Linked DNA regions of Homo sapiens: region 1 is linked to region 2. Evidence: promoter capture Hi-C in human tissues and cell types (Jung and others, 2019). All regions are on one chromosome and are shown on one strand. Each heading gives the region's core, a stretch centred on a gene start or on the middle of the fragment in contact. The rest is flanking DNA. Distances are from core to core; before and after follow the strand shown.

Region 1 (3,600 bases), core at 606-3,105, 570 kb after region 2:
GGAGACTACAGTGGACTAGGACAGGGTAGGCTCCTGAAAAGAATGGAAGCAGTGAAGGTTCAGAAATGAAGTTGGTTGAAAATCATTTCCTGAGCACCCACTAATGTTACACACCAAGAAGTTACCCATTTCCAGAGAAAAGAAAGAAAAAGACTTTCAAGAGCATAAGAAGTGAGCCTTTGGAATGTAAATCTACCATAATTCTCAACTCCTGGAGGTCTTACAGATGAGGAACACGAGGTGAGAGTGAAGAATGCATGAAGTGTCTCGGTCTGAGCCCTAACACAACACGACTATTCACTGTCCCCAGTCCCTTATGTGAAACCCTTAGGACCAGATGTGTTTCAGGAGTCAGAATTTTTCCCATTTCAGAAAGGTGACCTGGTGTAAATATTTTACATAACGTATCATCCCCAGTAGGGTTTGGAGTGGTGCCCTCAAATACACTGTTATTTTTGTTGTTGTTTTGTTTTGTTTTGAGACGGAGTCTCGCTCTGTCACCCAGGCTGGAATGCAGCGGCATGATCTCGGCTCAATGCAACCTCTGCCTCCCGGGTTCAAGCGATTCTCCTGCCTCAGCCTCCCAAGTAACTGGGACTACAAGCGTGCACCACCACACCAGGCTAATTTTCGCATCTTAAGTAGAGCTGGGTTTCACCATATTGGCCAGGCTGGTCTCAAACTACTGACCTCATGTGATCCACCCGCCTCGGAATCCCAAAGTGCTGGGATTACAGGTGTGAGCCACCGCACCTGGCCTACACTGTTATTTCTGAAGTTGGGTATACAGATATGCACACCAAGTTGGAAAAATAAAGACAATAAATGGTTTCCTATAGGATGAAGTCAGGTTTCACTGTGGTGATGTCTGGTCAGGGCTTGTAGCCACACGAGTTATAAAAAAACCTTTCGGTTTTCACCGCTTTTTCTGATTCTGGAATTGCAGATAAGGGACTAAGGGCTTGCACAGACACTCAGAACACAGACAAAGCCCAATCTTCAAGCCGTGTCCTACCCAGCAAGACCATGTTCCTGTAGTTCTCCAACATCACATCTCGGTAGAGGTCCTTCTGACCCCAGTTGAGGTGGCCCCACTCCTCTCTGGTGAAGTACATCGCCACATCCTCAAACGAGAGCAGCTCCTGGAAAAGTAGCTGATAAAGGTAACTGCAATTCTTAAAATAACTTACGCTCAATGATTATTCCACAGCTGAGGAAACCAAGGTTTGGGAGGTAGAGTGTGGGCCAAGGGCACCCAATTCATAAGGAATATATTCAGGGCTCCTTTCAGGCCTGATGGCCCTCAGGCCAGACATGTGCTGGCTTCCATACCACGGGGTCGACACAATTAATCTCTAAAGGGCCAGATGGTAAATATTTTAGGCTTTTCAGGCCCTCTGGTCTCTGTTCCAGTTCCTCAAATCTGCTGTTGATTAGAGGAACAGCAAATCAACAATCTGAGGAACAGCCTTTGTGTTGGAGCACAAAAGCAGCCGTGGACAAGTAAGCGAATGGGCACAGCTGTGTTTCAGGGAAACTTTACCAAGCGGTCCAGGGCAGTTTGCTGACCGCTGCTCTATAAAAATAACCTATTGCTTCTGCCCCAGGTTCCTTAGGAAAGAGATGAGGTCACTGGGGGGTTGGTTAATGTGCAGACTATTTACAAAGGGATGAATAGTCTCAATGAACATGAACAAGAAATGTGGAAGCTCGCAGGTCCTGGCCACCCTGGGGAACCAGGGCCTGCTAGGTCTGAAGGGGTAAGGTGGGGAGGGCTGCTGGAGCCCAGAAGGCTGCTGGAAGGGGAGCAAGACCAGCTGCGGCTGAACAGGATGCAGCCACACCCATCCCACAGCCCAGTGGGGAGGGAGCCGTGGGAAGAGAAACCCAACCTCAGTTTTCCCCAGGCCTCCGGCGCCCTGTCCCCTGTCCTCCAACCCTCTTCATCCCATTGCCACAAGCCAAGCAGATGCCAGAGACCAGGGGAGCCCGTTGCTGGAGAATATAAAAGGTACAGACCAAGGCGCAGACGCCTGGGGAGCATATCCAGAGTGGGCAACAGTGGACACAGCACAGTGAGCACAGGGGACATTACATCTGCAAGTGACTGCCCCCTCCAGTGGGCTGAGCACTGAAGCTGCCACACTCTCCCTCCCACACCACTGCAGCCCTCTGGGCAAAGGGGCCCAGCGGCTGTCTACACACTCCTTGCTCTCACAAGACACTGCATGGGTTCAGAGGGGATGTGTGCAGGGAAAGGGCAAACGTTCGCTGTCCTATAAGTGGTCAGTAACAGGAAATGCCCACCCCCATCCTGAGACCATCCTGAGAAGCTTCACGTAGCTCCCCTCTGCAGGCAGGCACCAGAACCTCCCAAATTATACGGACTTTCTTTCCTGCCTATCAAACCTGAGTTCCACTGCTACGGTTGCAGGCCCTTTCTCACCATTATCCAGAGTGTCACTCTTTTACCAGAGCTGCGCTGCCATGTCCTCAATCTGACCTACTCAGCCATCTGCATTCCCGCACCTGCACAAGGTTAACAAGCATGGGAATAAAATGGCTTCATCTCCCAGAGTCATTGTGGCATGGTAACTCCTCTCCTAACATCCACAATAGGTTCTTGGAAACTGATTTTTAGCAAAAGTATGTACAGCAGCAGGTCCTTGAATAACTTTGTTTCACTGTAACACTGATGGAAAAAAAACGGTTTTGATATACATAGTTTCCCTTAAAGTTGCAGTTTCCAAGAACCCATCAACAGCTAGGACTTGTACATTGACAGATGGGCACCAAATGTTGCTTAAAAGTTCCATTTTTTGTTTGTTTGGGTTTTTGTTTTCGTTTTTGTTTTTTGAGACAGTTTCGCTCTTGTTGCCCAGGCTAGAGTGCAATGGCGCGATCTCGGCTCACTGCAACCTCCACCTCCTCGGTTCAAGCAATTCTCCTGCCTCAGCTTCCCAAGTAGATGGGATTATAGGCATGCGCCACTATACCCAGCTAATTTTTGTATTTTTAGTAGAGATGGAGTTTCACTATATGTTGGCCAGGCTGGTCTCAAACTCCTGACCTCAGGCAATCCACCCCCCTCAGCCTCCCAAAGTGCTGGGATTCCAGGCATGAGCCACTGGTCCTCTCCTTTCTTTCAAACTCAGTCTCTTCTAGGCTGGGCGCGGTGGCTCACACCTGGATTCCCAGCACTTTGGGAGGCTGAGGCTGGTGGATGGCTCAAGCCAAGAGTTCAAGAACAACCTGGGCAACATGGTGTAACCCTGTCTCTACAAAAAATACAAAAGTAACCAGGCGTGGTGGCATGTACCTGTGGTCCCAACTACTTGGGAGGCTGAGGTGGGAGGATCACCTGAGCCTGGGAAGGTCAAGGCTGCCATGAGCCATGATCATGCCACTGCATTCCAGCCTGGGCAACAGTGTGAGACTCCGTCTAAAAAAAGACAAAACACAGGCTGGGCACAGTGGCTCACGCCTGTAATGCCAGTACTCTGGGAGGCTGAGGTGGGTGGATCACGAGGTCAAGAGATGGAGACCATTCTGGCCAACATGGTGAAACCCCGTCTCTACTAAAAGTACAAAAATTAGCTG
Region 2 (3,389 bases), core at 432-2,931:
AGGCGTTGTGGCGGGCGCCTGTAGTCCCAGCTACTTGGGAGGCTGAGGCAGGAGAATGGCTAGAACCCGGGAGGCGGAGCTTGCAGTGAGCCGAGATCGCGCCACTGCATTCCAACCTAGGCGACAGAGCGAGACTCCATCTCAAAAAAAAAAAAAAAAAAAAAAAAAAAAAGAAAATCCCTAGATCCCTAGGCAGCCAAATTAGATAATTCTTGAGCCACAGAATTCCACTAATTGTTACAAGTTCTTCCTTTTTTTTTTTTTTTTTTTTTTTTTGAGACGTAGTTTCACTCTTGTTTCCCAGGCTGGAGTGCAATGGCGCGATCTCGGCTCACCGCAACCTCTGCCTCCCAGGTTCAAGCGATTCTCCTGCCTCAGCCTCCTTACAGGCATGTGCCACCACGCCCGCCTAATTTTGTATTTGTAGTAGAGACGGGGTTTCTCCATGTTGGTCAGGCTGGTCTCGAACTCCCGACCTCAGGTGATGCACTCGCCTCGGCCTCCCAAAGTGCTGGATTACAGGCATGAGCCACCGCGCCCGGCCACACAAATTCTTTAACCTGAATCAAATTCCGCATCATTTCAAAAATCCTAGGTTAGTCCAAGACCAATACTCACTTTCTCCATAGCAGCCTTCCAACACTTGAAAACAATTATCTTGCCTCTTAATTCTTTTCCTCTCCACAGCTCAACTGTTCCTTAGATTTCGTGGGTTTCCAAGTACCTCACCCATCAAATCAACGTTCTTTTTTTTTGTGAGACCAAGTGTTGCTCTGTCGCCCAGGCTGGAGTGCAGTGGCGTGATCTCGGTTCAGTGCAACCTCCACCTGGTGGGTTCAAGCGATTCTCCTGCCTCAGCCTCCTGAGTAGCTGGGATTACAGGCGCGCTCCACCACACCCAGCTAATTTTTGTATTTTTCGTGGGGACAGGGTTTGGCCAGGCTGGTCTCGAACTCCTGACCTCAAGTGATCCGCCGGCCTCGGCCTCCCGAACTGCTGGGATTACAGGCGTGAGCCACCGCGCCTGGCCCAAATCAACTTTGTCCTGACACTCTTTTATTTATACATGGTTCTTTAAGACTGTTTTTCTAAACCATGAGCAGATCCCTATTCTGTGTGTGTGTTCTAGCCCGAACAAAGCCCGAGGGGACTATTTCTTCCCTTGGATTTGATTCTACCCAACACTTCTAATGAGGTTCGGCTTCCCACAGGTTTCCAACACCTTGGGCGTATTGCCATCAATGAGCCTTGCGTTCGGACCTCCAGTTCAGAGAAAGGGAAAAAAGGCGGCCACGGTCAGACTGATAGACGGCTTGGCTTGGGGAACGCACAAAAAAAACTATTCTGGAACGCGAAAGAACTTCCAAAACATCTGTTCTTCCAGCTTTCATTTGTTAAAGCCCCAAGTGGAAGAAAAGGCTTTCCAGGCAGCCAGCGCCCCCACCAGCTGGTCCTGGGCGGGGACGAGGAGCTCCTCCCCACAGCCCTGCTAGGACCGGTCTAGGTGGGGTCCTCGGAAGCCACAGCTGCTAAACCCACTCCTCCCTCCCCAGACCATTCAGCCACGGCTCCCTCTCCTGTCCGCCTCGCTAACCCGCGACCAGCAGGCTCACCATGAATCAGAGCCGCTCCGGGTACCGGGAGACCGCACCGCGTACCTCGGGACCGCGCACCCGGAAGTGCGTCATAGCCCCGCCCCCGCGGAAAAGTAGTGCGGGGCCGTAGCGGCCCCTCTAGAAATTCGGGAGGTCCTCTCTGTGTCTCTGGCCCTTGGGACATCAGGGAGGAGTTGAGTCCACCCCGAAAATGAAAAGCCAGGGACTCTTTCTGTTTTTACCGAAGACGGTCAGACCAGATGAAGGCTGCGGCGGTTCTCTCACCCAACCCCGACGCCCTGGGGCAGGGAGGGCATGGGCTGAGGCAGCCACCTCGGTCACCCTCGTGGACTTCAGAGCCCAAGGTCCCTGAGTACCCTTGGGATAAGCACAGGGTTCCTTGTCCATAAACCTGGATCGAGGTCACTGGATACCCTTGGGCCCAGCTCCTCGGTCCAGGTTTATGGACATGGAACGCTGTGCTTGGCCCGTGAAGCCAGAGATTGAGTTAATACTTCGTTGATGAAAACAATCAAACTGTAAAATATTTGAAGACATTTATTTTGAGACAAATATGAGTGACCAATGGCCCAAGGTACAGTCTCAAGAGGTCCTAAGAACATGTACCTATGATGGTCGGGCTACAGCTTGGGTTTATACAATTTAGGGAGACATAAGACACCAATCAAGACATGTAAGATGAACATTGGTTCTGTGGGAAAGGCAGGACAATTCCAAGCGGGGATGTTCCAAGTCATAGGTGAACTCAAGGATCTTCTAATGGGCAACTGGCTGAAAGTTATTGTCTAAAGACCTATAATCAATAGAAAGGAATGTCTGGGATGACTAAGGCAGGGGTCCCCAACCCTTGGGGCACAGACAGATACCAGTCCATGGCCTGTTAGGAACTGGGCCGTTACTGCAGGAGGTGAGCTGCAGGAGCAAAGCTTCACCTGTATCTACAGCCACTCCCCATTGCTCTAATTACTGCCTGAGCTCCGCCTCCTGTCAGATCAGCCATAGCATTAGATTCTTACAGGAGCACAAACCCTATTGTGGACAGTGCATGCGAGGGATCTAGGTTGTGCACTCTTTATGAGAATCTAATACCTGATGATCTGTCGCTGTCTCCCATAATTCCCCAATGGAACCCTCTAATTACAGGAAAACAAACTCAGGGCTCCCACTAATTCTATGTTATGATGAGTTGTACAATTATTTCATGATATATTACAATGTAATAATAATAGAAATAAAGTACACAATAAATGTAATGTGCTTGAATCATCCTGAAACCACGAAACCATCCATCCCCCTCCTGCCATCCATGGAAAAAACTGTCTTCCACAAAACTGGTTCCTGGTGCCAAAAAAGGTTGGGGACCGCTGAACTAAGGGGTTGTGGAGACCAGGGTTCCCATTATGCAGATGGAGCCTCCAGGCAGCCGGCTTCAGAAAGAACAGACTGCAAATATTTCTTATCAGACTTTAAAAAGTGCCAGACGCCCAGTTGATTCTCTCCTGGATCAGGAAAAAGGCCTGGAAAGGGAAGGGGATTCTCTACCAAGTGTAGATTTTCCCCACGAGAAGACAGCTTGGTAGGGTTATTTCAAGATATGGCAAAAAAACATATTTGGGGTGGAAATATTTTCGTTTCCTTCTTTATCTGCCATGTGATGTTATGCCAGAGCCTGGTTGAAAAGTCAGCCAGGTTATATAAAGTTAAATAAAACCTGTCTGATGAGGCTTTATGGTTTGAAGGGGGTGACTCTCCAGGCCCCTTAGATAGTAATTT

Evidence for each region. The method cuts DNA at HindIII sites, captures the fragments that hold promoters and counts their contacts. A contact is called where the count stands out against the background at its distance.
Region 1: a fragment that was not itself captured here is called in contact with the fragment with the promoter of ZSCAN21 in region 2 in 2 of the 25 tissues and cell types used here (adrenal gland and dorsolateral prefrontal cortex).

The regions. Positions count from the first base shown.
Region 1 is chr7:99,477,203-99,480,802 of GRCh38, reverse strand. ZNF789 (zinc finger protein 789) reads right to left here. Exons shown (of 5, transcript NM_213603.3): 3 at 1,016-1,142. Among named protein-coding and RNA genes, the nearest start is that of ZNF789, 6.1 kb to the right of the region's middle. The HindIII fragment of the contact is 8,015 bases long and covers 1-3,600 here.
Region 2 is chr7:100,048,066-100,051,454 of GRCh38, reverse strand. It overlaps ZSCAN21 (zinc finger and SCAN domain containing 21), which reads right to left and starts at 1,681. Exons shown (of 4, transcript NM_145914.3): 1 at 1,614-1,681. RefSeq lists an enhancer at 1,160-1,779. The HindIII fragment of the contact is 16,971 bases long and covers 1-3,389 here.